Linked DNA regions of Homo sapiens: all the other regions are linked to region 3. The links are contacts of gene promoters, found by promoter capture Hi-C in blood cells and fetal thymus (Javierre and others, 2016). All regions are on one chromosome and are shown on one strand. Each heading gives the region's core, a stretch centred on a gene start or on the middle of the fragment in contact. The rest is flanking DNA. Distances are from core to core; before and after follow the strand shown.

Region 1 (4,399 bases), core at 760-3,259, 160 kb before region 3:
AACTAAGAAAAGAGGGCAGCGTTCTGTTAAAAAAAAAAAGGGATAGAACAACACTGTCCAACAGAAATGACTAAGAGACTCGAGAAGACTGATATTCAGATTGCAGTTACCCGCCGAATCACACTGTGATGTCAGCCTCCCTTGCTGTTACTCCCAAATCAGCATATCAGCAGTAGAACTCTACTGCTTTTTCTGTGTGGTATTGAGGGTTATGAAATTAAAGAGTAGGAACTTGGTCCAGCATGAGTTGCTGCAGTTCTGGAGACAATTGTAACAAGCTGCAACGAGAACTGCAGAAATGAAGAATGAGAATTGAGCAGAAATCAGAGCTATCAGTGATCAAGGGGGCCTAAGCCCCTGAATTCACAGTAATTTTCCTTAAGGATATGGCCGGGTATTTGGATAAATCTATAGATATTAGAGGACACTGACTTATATATGCTTGAAGCCCAGAGTTTCTGGCTTATGACATGTGCTGCAGGTCTGAGGGGCATTCATTTACAAAACTTTGATGATAAGGGGAGCAGAGAATGTGGAAAAACAGAAAAGAGGTAAATGAAGCCAGTGAGACAGGAAGGGGCATTATCTTCAGCAACAGGAATGCCAACAGCAGTCATCAATATTTATTGAGCAGGACAGGGGAGAGACACAGTTTAGGGAGGCTTCTCCCGGCTGACTCTTGAACCAAGCCCATAAAAATTGTGATGCTGACACCAGAAAATTCCAGTGAAAAGGCACAGTCAGGAAATGCTTTAGACTACATGGCCCAAGGGGCCCTTAGAGATCCTTCAACAGCCTCTAATTTGTCACAGACATGAATCCCCACTCACTGGATGTTGGAAAGAAGATTCAATCACAGAGTTTCCTTCAGGCAAGTCAGGTGTCTTTATAACTCTGCAAAGTAGAGAATCAAGAAGAAGCTGAGATTTTTCCTAAGTGGAGAGAGACCTAAATGGAAGTTCAGGAGGGACAACGGACTAGCACTCTTGTCCTTGTTCGCTGGAAGGAACCATCAAGTTGATGGGGATGGACATTGGGATAGATTTTGAGAGCAAGAGAGAACAAAGAAAAGGGTTGGGAGTGGCGGTCAGAACACATCTGCCTAGAACCTGGTTACCTACTTTGTAACATGCAGAAGTTGTACTTCCCAGAAAGGTGAGGGACCTGCCCCGGGAGGAGATCATCAGGACACAAACATCAGTGACAGGAAGAGAGCGTGTCCTTCTCACCTGCTTCTTGAAATTGCTCTTTGGTTTCCACCACTGGGAGGCTATCGGTTGCTTTCTTGTGTCTTCTGGTGCTCTCTGAAGTTAGGAAGTATTTAGAAGAGGAAGATTTGTGCTTCCAGGTCCTCCACCATCTCCCCAAACCCAGAAGCACAAGCTCCAAAAAAGTAAACAAGAGACAGAAACCGCTGACTCCAAACATGGTCTTTAGGAAAATGGTCTTCTCAGAGGGGCGGGACAGATTGCAGGTTATACTACCAAGGCAAGGTTCTCGGCGACATGCAAAGGAGCTGGGCATCTGGAACCCATACAGGTGGTACTGCAACCCCAGGGCTGCCCCCTCCAGGACAAGCCGAGCCCCCAGCTGAGCCACATAAGCCCAGAGCAGCCTGAGGCTTCCAGCCCCTGGGACATCTGTGTTGCCCTCCCGTCCCTGGATCAGGGTCTCCTCCTCCTTCCCCTTTCCTGATAATTCCCAGTGCCAGATCACGTGATACAGAGTGAAACCCATATAGAGGGCGCTGGGTACAGCCACCAAGATGACCTGGAAGACCCAGAAACGCAGCGGGGAGAGGGGGTGGAAGGCATCGAAGCAGGCAGCCTTGCAGCCCGGCTGCTGGGTGTGACACACGAATTCACTCTGCTCATCACCATAGACTCCAGGCCCACTGGCAGCCAGCAGCACAAGGCGGAATCCCAGGAGCACGGGAAGCAAGAGGCGCCCCACGGGGGTGGAGCGCCGGCTCTCCTCCGCCAGCAGCCGCCGCAGGAACCTGCCACACATCCTGTTTTGGAGCAGAGGACAAGAGATCAGTGTTGTTCACTGTCCTTCAGAGGGAGCTCCAGTCCACCTTGTCACTCCTAATCCAAGGATCACTGAAGGCAAGCTTTTTTATTCCTCTCCAAGTATCTGACTGATTAAATACCAAGACTCTGATTGCACCTCTTTACTACTTAATGAAATCATCTATGTAAAATAATAACAGTGAGTGTGTGTGGTGTGGCTCTCTCTTCTGCCCTCCCCTTCTGTACTGCTGGAGTGGAGAGGAACTCTCAGGTTGGAGAGACCAGGATACATCTTCATCTCTCTCTTTCCCTCCTTCCCTCCGTCTCTCTTTCCCAAAGGCTGAACGTAAGAGAGTAGACTGGGATGTTTTGTTAATTTTCCTTTGAAAGGTATTGCTTCCCCAGCTGATGGCTGCCAGGCCTGGTGCTCCTACAGCATCATCTTAAGCAAATTAGTGCTGATGCTGAGAGGGAATGTGCATTCTCTTGCGGTCTTCTTTTCTCTTCCTCCATGCCCTTGGATGATCACAGGTGTGTCTGGATGTCCTCTTCTCCCATCACAGTGGTAAAGTTGAGAGGTAGTTAGGTTATGGGGCTAGATGTGATGGATGAAATGAACAGAGCAAGCATCGAGGCTTGCTTTAGTCTGATGCTCTTAGGCCTTACAAGCTGAGGAAGAAGAGAACATTTGGAAGGTAACCCAGCAGAATTTACCAGAATTACATACTATAGGATTTGGGGCCAGAGCCAGAACTGACTAGATAGAAATTCAGATTTTTGACCCCCACTTGCCATTGTTCCTTGGGCATATTATCTCCCTCATGGTGACAGGCGACCATGATCAAGGATAAGTTTCAGAAATCCCTCTGTTCCCCAGCCAAAATACCACAATGCTACAAGCCCAAGTTCACCATCTCTATATTTGTCCTAATCAGCTGCCTTCCCCAATGCCCAGCAGCTGTTTCAAACCGTCCCCATTTAGCCTAAATTCTCACTCATCTGGTTACCCTCACACTCAGAAGACCATGTGGTATGGTCTGAATGATGATCAAGATGCATATGCTAGAACCTAATACAGTAGTCCCCCCTCTTATCTGCGATTTCACTTTCTACAGTTTCAGTTACCCACAGTCAACAGAGGTCCAAAAATATTAAATGGAAAATTCCAGAAATACAAAATTAATGTTTTAAATTGTGTGCTGTTCTGAGTAGCACTATGAAATCTCACACCATCCCACCCAGGATGTGAATCATCCCTTTGTCCAGGGTATCCAACGCTGTAGACGCTCCTTGCTGGTTTGTGACTTAATCGCCATTTTGGTTATCAGATCAACTATCAATACTCGTTCAAGTAACTCTTATTTTACTTAAGAATAGCCCCAAAAAGCAAGAGTAGTGATGCCAGCATATTGTTACAATTGTTCCAGTTGTTCTATTTCTTTTTTTTTTTTTTTTTTTTTGAGACGGACTCTCGCTCTGTCACCAGGCTGGAGTGCACTGGCACGATCTTGGCTCGCTGCAATCTCTGCCTCCCAGGTTCAAGCAATTCCCCTGCCTCAGCCTGCTGAGTAGCTGGGACTATAGGGGCGCACCACCACGCCGGGCTAATTTTTTGTATTTTAGTAGAAACAGGGTCACTATGTTGGCCGGGATGGTCTCAGTCTCCTGACCTTGTGATCCACCTGCCTCGGCCTCCCAAAGTGCTGGGATTACAGGCATGAGCCACCATGCCCAGCCACAATTGTTCTATTTTCTTAGTAGTTATTGTTGTTAATCTCTTACTGTGCTAATTTGTAATTAAACTTTATCATAGGGATGTACATATGGGGAAAAAAAACATAGTATATATGGAGTTTGGTACTATCCACAATTTCAGGCATCCACTGGAGGTCTTGGAACATATCTCCCACAGATAAGGTGGAAGTGCTGTACTCAATGTGATAGTATTAAGAGGTGGAAAGGTGGAAGTGCTGTACTCAGTGTGATAGTACTAAGAGGTGGAGCCCTTACCAAGTGTCTTAGTCCATTTTGTGTTGCCACAAAGGAGAACCTGAGGCTGGGTGATTTATAAAGAGGTTTATTTGACTCACAGCTCTGCAGCCTGCACATCTGCTTAGCTTCTGTTGAGGGTTTCCATACTGTGTCAAAACATGGCAGGGAAGGTCAAAGGGGAAGAGGGACCAAACCCAAGGGGCATCCTGGCTTTACAACAACCCACTCTTGAGGGAACTAATCCATTCCCTCAAGAATGAATCCAGTTTCACAGAAGCGATAACCCACTCACTGCCACAAGAATGGCACCAAGTTATTCATGAGGAATCTGCCCCCAGGACCCAAACACCTCCCCCTAGACCCCACCTCCCAACACCATCAAACTATAGGGATTA
Region 2 (4,519 bases), core at 466-2,965, 180 kb before region 3:
TCACTTCTACATCCTGTAAATGCATGACTTTCTTCATCTTGGCCACGAGATTACGCTGAGACTTAAGAAGTTTCTCCTGCCAGCAGAAACACACACAGGTAAGAAAACACATCTCCAACCATCATCATCTTCTTTTTTCTTTTTGTTTTTTTTTTTTTTTTTTTTTGAGACAAAGTCTCACTTTGTCACCCAGGTTAGACTGCAGCGGCCTGATCATGGCTCACTACAGCCTCAGCATCCCAAGCTCAAGTGATCCTCCCACCTCAGCCTCCCAAGTAGCTGGACTACAGGCATGCTCCGTCAGGTCCAACTAATTTTTTTATGTTTCGTAGAGACAAAGTCTCCCTATGTTGCCCAGGCTGGTCTTGAACTCCTGGGCTCAACAGATCCTCCCACCTCAGCCTCCCAAAGTGCTGGGATTACAGCCATGAGCCACCACGCCTGGCAACTTCATTTTTTAAGAGCTAAAAGTCACCTAATCAAAACAGAGAATGAGATTGAAAAAATGCTGAAGACGGTCACAGGCCTATGATAAGAACTATTCTGGTCTGAAATCATCACAACACTATATTGAGTTTTCCTGGTAAGTTAGCAAAAACTAAAAACTGTTAGAAGATTAGCAAATATCTACTACTGGCAGAGAGAAGGCCTCTGGCACCACAGGAGATTAAAAACGTGCCTTTTTTTGATGGACAACTGGCAGGATTTAACAAAATTTTAAATGGGTATAATGCTACTTCTAATAATCTATGCAACAAAACACTAGCAAAAATAACCAATATGTAAAGAAATGGTCACTATAGCATTATTCATTATCCACTAATTAGGAATTATTAAATAAATTATGTTATATTGATACTTTGCATCAATTTCAGGTAGCTGTCTATATATTGACATGAAATACACAATAAGTTGAAAGCAAGCCATAAGACAATATGTATTGTACAATTCTGTTTTGAAAAGAATAAACGTGTCTATGCGCATACGTGTTTATCTATGTGTGTGTATTTGTATGTGAAAGCAAGGGAAATCTGGAAGGATGTATACCCAAGTATTAACATTGGTGACTTCCAAGGAAAAAGAATGGCTTACGAATTTGGAGGTGGGGTACTAGAAATTTTATGCATTTTTGCTTTAATTTCTACAAGTGGCATATGCCATTTTTGTAATTTAAAAACCCGAGTAAGTTATTAAAAAATAAAGCAAGTCAATCAACATTGACAAATTGGGCTGAGGGGCAGCACCCGATAGTAGGATGTCAGCTGCGAGTGCAGAGATGGAAGCAGAAATGTTAGAGAAACACACAAGAGAAAAACCCACAGGAACTGATGATCAAATGGCTGCAGGAGGAAAGGGTCCAGATTTAGCCCCTCAGTTGTGGTTTAAGTAACTGGATGGACTGCAGGTTATTTATCAAATTAGAAAATATAGGAAGAAGAGCAGTGTGTAAATGGGAGGAAGGAAAATAAATTTCACCTAAATAAATTGAGTCTGAGATGCCTGTGGGACATCCAAGTGGATATGTTAGCAATTAGAGTTGGGAAGGAGATCTATGCTGCAGAAGCAGATTTCGGGATTAAAGCACAGGTGGCAGTTGGAGCCTTGGGTGAGCGTAAAATCACCCAGTAAGATTCTATAGAGTAAGAGGATCAAGGCTAGAACTGGCAACAACTACATTTAAGCAGTATGTAGAAAATAAAAATCCTGCAAAGAAGCTAAGGTGAGCAGTTGGTGAAAAACCAAGAGAGAATGGTTTCTCCTATGCCAAAGGAAGAGACCATTTAAATTACAAAACTAGTGAATAGTGTCAAATGCTGGAGGGTGGCCTGGGCAACTTTCTGTAAGTCTCACTATATGTCAAAATAAACAAAAAATTAAAAAAATTAAAAATAAATTTAAAAAACTAAAAGAAAAGAAATGATTAGAACTAAAAAATAATCTGTACAACTTTTTAAATTCTTCCCCAGAAAACTAACAATTACTAATAGGTATAACTTTTCATCCAATCATTTACAAGTGACAATGGTTAAAATCAAGTTAAATAACTGACAAGGTTGATAACATCAAAGTTGGCAAGGGTATGGAGCAACTGGAACTCTTACACAACATTAGCAGGCGAATGAAATGCTACCACCATTTTGGAAGAAGGTTCAGTGTAAAACTAAACATACATTAATCCTAGGGTACAGCAATTCTACTCCTAGACCCTGGAAAAATGAAAACATGTACCCATAAATAGACCTGTACAAGAATATTCATCGCAGCTTTATTCACAATAGCTAGAAGCTGGAAACAGTCCAGGTATTCATTGATAGGAAGGTGGATAAATAATGGCAAAAACCGCAATTACATTTGCACCAACCTATACAAAAATGGATAAATCTCAAAATCAATATGCTGAGCAAAAGGATCCATACAGACAATGGAATTCCATTTATATGAAGTTCTGGAACAGGCAAAACCTAATTTGTGTTTGAAAAAAAATCAGAACGGTGGTTGCCCTGGTAGGGGAAGGGTGCAGAGAATAACTGGGAAAGGGCATGAAAGAATTCTCTGGATGGTAATATCCTTTATCTTGAGAAGGGCATTTGTCAAAGCTCAGCAAATGTACAACTAAGATTTGTGTTTTTCATGGTATTAAATTTTACCTCAAAAAATACCATAGGCCAGGCACGGTGGCTCACGCCTGTAACCCCAGCATTTTGGGAGGCCAAGGCAGGTGGACAGCTTGAGGCCAAGAGTTCGAGACCAGCCTGGGCAACATGGTGAAACCCTGTCTCTACTAAAATACAAAAGAAATAGCCAGGTGTGGTGGCACAAGCCTGTAATCCAGCTACTTGGGAGGCTGAGGCATGAGAATCGCTTGAACCCAGAGGCAAAGGTTTCAGTGAGCCGAGATCACACCACTGCACTCCAGCCTGGGTAACAGAATGAGACTCTACATATTAAAAAAAAAAAATAATACCATAAACAAATGTTAAATCTGGTTAATGATATACATGCTGAAGTATTTTGTTTGCAATTGAATTTTAAAAGCATCAAAAGGAAATAAGAATTGATGTATTCAGAGAGATACAGACAAATGGACAGCTATGTGATAAAAGAGTCAAATGTTAATGGTAGAATCTACATGTGGGTACACTGGTGTTACTACAAAATTCTTCCAACTTTGATGTATGCTTGAAATTTTCATGGTAAAATGAAATAGGAAAACAAAATTAAATTATAAAAGGGATTCATACAGTTCTGTTAAATGGCACAATACCATCTGTGCTATTCTGTTTCTACCATGATGTTTCCTAACATTATATCATCTATTTACTATCTCTAGTAGTTAACTTTAATAGGCATGTAACCCTGCTACTCTCTCATGTAATTTCACTTTATTCAATTATAACTGCCGCTTTGTGGTCACTGTCAAATTTGATGTATATGAGGTTTGTAATGAGATATATATTAGTTCCTTCAAATAGGACCAAGTTTTTGAAAGTTTTCACTTTGCTTGATAATGAAAAATATAATAATCTACTAAATAGAGATTTTCTATGTCTTAAAAAGCCTTAACAAGTCAGTATGCATGAATTCTCTCATATGGTTCTACTACTCAAGACTCTACCCAAGTTTTTTTCAATCTGGCCACAGTTGGAATCTAAACTGGGAGGTGAGTTAACTTGACAGCCTTGGTGGAAGTTAGAAAACACTTTCCCTGCAACAACAGAAACTGCCAGGAGGTGGCAGGAGCGCAACACCAAGCATTTCAATCTGGGTTAGAAATACCAGAAATTTTAAAAATCACTCTCTCAGCTAGGTGCGGTGGCTCACGCCTGTAATCCCAGCACTTTGGGAGGCCAAGGCGGGCAGATTACGAGGTCAGGAGTTCCAGAGCAGCCTGACCAACATGGTGAAACCCCGTCTTTACTAAAAATACAAAAAAAAATTAGCCGGGCATGGTGGCACACGCCTGTAATCCCAGCTACTCAGGAAGCTGAGGCAGGAAAATCGCTTGAACCCGGGAGGTGGAGGTTGCAGTGAGCTGGGATCGCGCCACTGCACTCCAGCCTGGGCAACACAGTGAGACTCCATCTCAAATAAATAAATAAATAAATAAATAAAAATAATAATTTTTTTAAAAATCACTTTCTCTTAATTTAGCACCAGAAAATTATACGTATATGAAAACACAAGTGTAATAAAAGAGCATACTTTTATAGAATGAAGACATTTACTGACTTGTGATCATGTAGCTCAAACAACATTAAACTTCCAAAGATCTTAGTTTCACTCTAGACCTTCAAACCAGCTGTGCATCTGTGAGCAAGTCAGCCTTGCTTATTTCCTGGATCAAGGCTTCCTTAACTATAAAATGAAGACAACTGGACCAAATGTCTCTTAAATACCATCCCAGCTCTTGAGTTCTATGAATTTCAGTCACTGTAACTTCTGCAATTGATCCAAGCTGGTAGGTGTACTTTGGAAATATACCTCAAATCTACCTACATGCCAAACCCCACTGCCACCG
Region 3 (4,771 bases), core at 2,205-4,704:
TTCTTTGACAACCCTCTCAGTTTGTCCAGACCTGGTTGGTTTATCACTGGGGACTAGAATAAAATAAATTCCTTTTTAACTTCCCTTTGGCGAGAAGACCCCTCTTCCTGCAGGATTTCTCAAGTCCGTTCCATTGAGGGTTGCTGGCCCCTTCAAGTTTCCTTCATCCAGGCTCCTAAACGGAGAGATTGCATAATTCCCCTGTAAATTACAACTATCACCATATGGGGCTGTTCAGGGTCATAACACAGTTCTTCACCTGCTTTCTAGGAGCTTACACTTTGGGTGGGGATACAGACACCTAGAGCCAGAGTATGTCTGGCTCTTTCTAGGTGTCTGTACCCCTCTTTGTAGGGGTGGCAGGAGGAGCAGTGTGTGCAACTTGCTTAGGTTTAGGGGTAAGGAGGGGGTGGAGCAGCCTAGGCTAGCCAGATGTGAATTTTGGGTTTTTTTATGAGACAGAGTCTTGCTTTGTCAACCAGGCTGGAGTGTGGTGGTGTGATCTCGGCTCGCTGCAACCTCCGCCTCCCGGGTTCAAGTGATTCTCCTCCCTCAGCCTCTCGAGTAGCTGGGATTACAGGCATGCACCACCACGCCTGGCTAATTTTTGTATTTTTAGTAGAGATGGGGTTTCACCATCTCTACTGGTCGAGACCAGGCTGGTCTTGAACTCCTGACTTCAGGTGATTCACCCACCTCGGCCTCCCAAAGTGCTGAGATTACAAGCATAAGCCACTGTGCCTGGCCAGGAACTCAGTATTTAAGGGAAGAAAGCATGCAAGAGGAAAATAAGGAAGAAGGAGAGGCAGTGAGGCAAATGTTTTTTGTTTTGTTTTGTTTTGTTTTTCTTAAGACAGTGTCTCGCTCTGTCAGCAGGCTGGAGTGCAGTGGCGCAATCTCGGCTCACTGCAACCGCTGCCTCCCAGGTTCAAGCGATTCTTGTGCCTCAGCCTCCCAAGTAGCTGGTACTACAGGTGCGTGTCACCATGCCCAGCTAATATTTTGTATTTTTAGTAGAGACGGGGTTTCACAGTGTTAGCCAGGATAGTCTCAATCTCTTGACCTTGTGATCTGCCTGCCTCGGCCTCCCAAAGTGCTGGGATTACAGGCGTGAGCCACTGCACCCAGTCCAGCAAATGGTTATTTTATTTTATTTTTTGAAATAGAGTCTCAATCTGTTGCCCAGGCTGGAGTCCAGTGGGTCCATCTCGGCTCACTGCAATCTCCACCTCCTAGGCTCAAGTGATTCTCCTGCCTCAGCCTCCCAAGTAGCTGAGATTACAGGTGGGCACCACCACACCCAGCTAATTTTTGTATTTTTAGTAAAGATGGGGTTTTGCCATGTTGGCCAGGCTGGTCTTGAACTCCTGGCCTCAAGTGATCCACTCGCTTCCCAAAGTGCTGCGATTACAGGCATGAGCCACTGCACACCCTGCTGCACATTGTTACTTTTTTGTGAGTTTCTCATTAGTGTTCAGTAAATCTACATTTTATGTAAGATACAATAAACATTTGAAAAGAGGGAGTGGAGGAAAAAGTCAGTTATGCATCTGTCTCAGGATAGGTGGAGGGATGATTCCTGGTCTCTTCCTTGTTCTATAATTGGGAAGATAAGCTTGTAATCAACATTGTCAGTATGAGATTTCACAGAACTCGGATTAGGGCTGGTTTATAGGGGGAATGTTTATGCTGAAAGATTCAGAGGCTAATGAGGAATTTCCTGGCAAGCAATTTGTGAGGAAGACCATCTGGGGAGGTATATGCCTTTTGCCATTGTAGGAGCCTGGCTTATGTATGAGGCTATGACACAGGGTTGTGGAATTACAGCTATCTGGGAACAAAAAGGAAGGGAGTTTTGACTCACTTCCCAAGCATAAATTTCCTCGGCATGCCTCTACCATACCCAGCGAATTTTGTTTCCATGTTTTGTTGAAACAAGGTGTCACCATGTTGCCAAGGCTGGTCTCAAACTCCTGGGTTCAAGTGATCCTCCAACCTTGGCCTCCCAAAGTGCTAGGATTACAGGCGTGAGTCACCATGCCTGGCCTTGTGGAGTTATCTTCTTTCTTTCTTTCTTTCTTTCTTTTTTTTTTTTTTTTGAGATGGAGTCTCACTTTGTCTTGCCCGGGCTGGAGTGCAGTGGCGCGATCGCAGCTCACTGCAGCTTCCACCTCCCGGGTTCAAGCAATTCTCCTGCCTCAGGCTCCTGAGTAGCTGGGATTACAGGCGCCTGCCACCACGCCTGGCTAATTTTTGTATTTTTAGTAGAGATGGGGTTTCACCATGTTGGCTAGGCTCGTCTCAAACTGCTGACCTCAAGTGATTGTCTGGCCTCGGTCTCCCAAAATGCTGGTATTACAGGTGTGAGCCACCATGCCTGGCCTTGTGGGGTTATTTTCGAAAGTCCTTGAGATAATTCCTATCTCAGACATGCAAGCATGAGACCTTCTCCTTGGTGTTCTCATGGCTCCAATTTGTTTGGACCTGACAATGTGATTTTGTCCTGGTATCTGCAACTTTCACAAGATGGAGCAACTAACTCAACACCAGATTCCACCCCTAATTATTCCTTCATTCACTCAAAAAGTATCTAGGCTCCAATGTGTCAGGCACCGTGTTGGTCACAGGGGATACCATGATGAACAAGAGAAGGAACCACAGGCTTTTGAATGGGAAACTAAAGCATGTGAAAAACACACGGAGAGCTGGGTGCGGTGGCTCATGCCTGTAATCCCAGTGCTTTGGGAGGCTGAGGATGGAGGATCTCTTCTGCCCGGGAGTTGGAGACCAGCCTGGACAACCTAGTGAGACCCCCGTCTCTATCAAAATAAAAACAAATAATAAAATTAGCTGGGTGCGGTGGGGTGCGCCTGTAGTCCCAGCTACTCGGGAGGCTGAACTGGGAGGATCACTTGAGCCCAGGAGTTTGAGGGTGCAGTGAGCTGACATCAGGCCACTGCACTCCAGCCTGGGCGACAGAGCGAGACCCTGTCTCAAACAAAACAAAACAAACCACCACCACCACCAGACATGAGGGCCAGTGCAGCTGAAGCCTGAAGATCAAGGGCTAGAAGAGGCCAGGCCGGGGCCAGATCAGGCAGGGCCTTGCAGGTTGTGGTTAGTTGTTTGGATTTTATTGTGAGGGAAATAACACGACATGTCATTCCTTCTGCAACAGCCTTAAGAACTAGGCGTTCTTATCCCAATTTCACAGACGAGGACGATCAAGTCGTTAATTTGTCAAAGGTCACCCGCAGGCGACAGGCGGGGACAGGGTCTGGGAAAACCCGCTAGGCACCGAGGCCCAGAGGGCGTCGGGCGTCCCCGCACCGAGTGCCGCCCGCCGCGACCCGGGAACTGCCTGCTCCCCGGACGCCAGGCCCGCCGCACGCCGCGGGGACACCGAACATGCGCCGCTCGCCTTACGGAAGCCGGGAAGGAAGGGGGCGGGGCCGAGGCTGGCGGGCGCGGGGAAAATGGCGGCGGCGGCGGCGGCGGCTGCAGCTACGAACGGGACCGGAGGAAGCAGCGGGATGGAGGTGGATGCAGCAGGTAACGGGCCGTGCGGGGGTGGCTTCCGGAGACCTCCTTCAGGGGTTCGTTGAGGCCTCCCTGTGCTCCCGGGAGAAGGGAGGAGGGCGGAGCAGCAACATCTTTCCCTGGGATAAGTTACGGGAGGAAAGTGTGGCCCGGGCTCCGCCGTCCCCCACTGCCATCTCCAGGGAAGAACGTGGGGCCCGGACTCTCACCCTCTCTCCTTTCCCTCCACCCTTAGTAGTCCCCAGCGTGATGGCCTGCGGAGTGACTGGGAGTGTTTCCGTCGCTCTCCATCCCCTTGTCATTCTCAACATCTCAGACCACTGGATCCGCATGCGCTCCCAGGAGGGGCGGCCTGTGCAGGGTGAGTGTTGGGCATAGACTCCAGTCTCTTCTCCTTGCTCACCTCCCCCAGGCAGTGGTCTTTTCCCCTTCCTCTACTGGAGCCAATTCCCCCTCCCCCAAATCATCGTTTCCCCAATACATGGTTCCCACTGATCTCAGACCCTCAGGTCATAGAAGTTTCTTTACCCTCACCTTTTCCATGTCATTCTCTTTCCCAGTGATTGGGGCTCTGATTGGCAAGCAGGAGGGCCGAAATATCGAGGTGATGAACTCCTTTGAGCTGCTGTCCCACACCGTGGAAGAGAAGATTATCATTGACAAGGAATATTATTACACCAAGGAGGAGCAGTGTGAGAGTGGAATAGATGTGGGGAAGAGGAGTGGGAGTTAAAAAAAAAATGTACAGGGTGGGGAAGATGGAGAGGGTTGGAAAGAAACAGGAGAGGAGACCAAGAACAGGGGAGAAAAAGTGAAGAGTAGCTGGAGAGATCTCAGAAAAAGAAAACGTTCAGAGTTCTTTCTCAAAAGAAAGCAAAGGATGAGAGGAGACAGGATAGAAGGGAGTAGTTATTCTAAACTGAGCCAGGATTTGAGGAGGGAGGAGAGAAGCTGGTGAAAATACACCAGGAGCTTCACATTGAGGAAGGATGGTTTAAAGAATTACTATGTCAGGCCGGGCTCAGTGACTCATGCCTCTAATCCCAGCACTTTGGGAGGCCGAGGTGGGTGGATCATGAGGTCAGGAGTTCAAGACCAGCCTGGCAAACATAGTGAAACCCCACCTCTACTAAAAATACAAAAATTAGTCTGGCATGGTGGTGCGTGCCTGTAGTCCCAGCTACGCGGGATGCTGAGGCAGGAGAATTGCTTGAACCTGGGAGGCGGAGGT

What was found. Contacts are between HindIII fragments. The CHiCAGO score rates a contact against its expected background, and 5 or more counts as called.
Region 1: a contact is called between the fragment with the promoter of GJC3 here and the fragment with the promoter of COPS6 in region 3, in 4 of 17 cell types (naive CD8 T cells, M0 macrophages, non-activated CD4 T cells and 1 more). The highest score is 6.8, in naive CD8 T cells.
Region 2: a fragment that was not itself captured here is called in contact with the fragment with the promoter of COPS6 in region 3 in 1 of 17 cell types (naive CD4 T cells); the score reaches 5.2 in naive CD4 T cells.

Annotation. Positions count from the first base shown.
Region 1 is chr7:99,927,611-99,932,009 of GRCh38, forward strand. GJC3 (gap junction protein gamma 3) reads right to left here and starts at 2,010. Exons shown (of 2, transcript NM_181538.3): 1 at 1,230-2,010. The coding sequence starts at 2,010. RefSeq lists enhancers at 1,223-1,808, 1,809-2,393. The HindIII fragment of the contact is 6,133 bases long and covers 1-2,111 here.
Region 2 is chr7:99,909,585-99,914,103 of GRCh38, forward strand. TRIM4 (tripartite motif containing 4) reads right to left here. Exons shown (of 6, transcript NM_033091.3): 2 at 1-76. Among named protein-coding and RNA genes, the nearest start is that of TRIM4, 7.7 kb to the right of the region's middle. The HindIII fragment of the contact is 9,956 bases long and covers 1-4,519 here.
Region 3 is chr7:100,085,515-100,090,285 of GRCh38, forward strand. It overlaps COPS6 (COP9 signalosome subunit 6), which reads left to right and starts at 3,455. Exons shown (of 10, transcript NM_006833.5): 1 at 3,455-3,552; 2 at 3,776-3,901; 3 at 4,101-4,232. The coding sequence starts at 3,477. RefSeq lists enhancers at 1,575-2,268, 3,655-4,346, 3,853-4,771 and a silencer at 3,315-3,504. The HindIII fragment of the contact is 8,452 bases long and covers 1,614-4,771 here.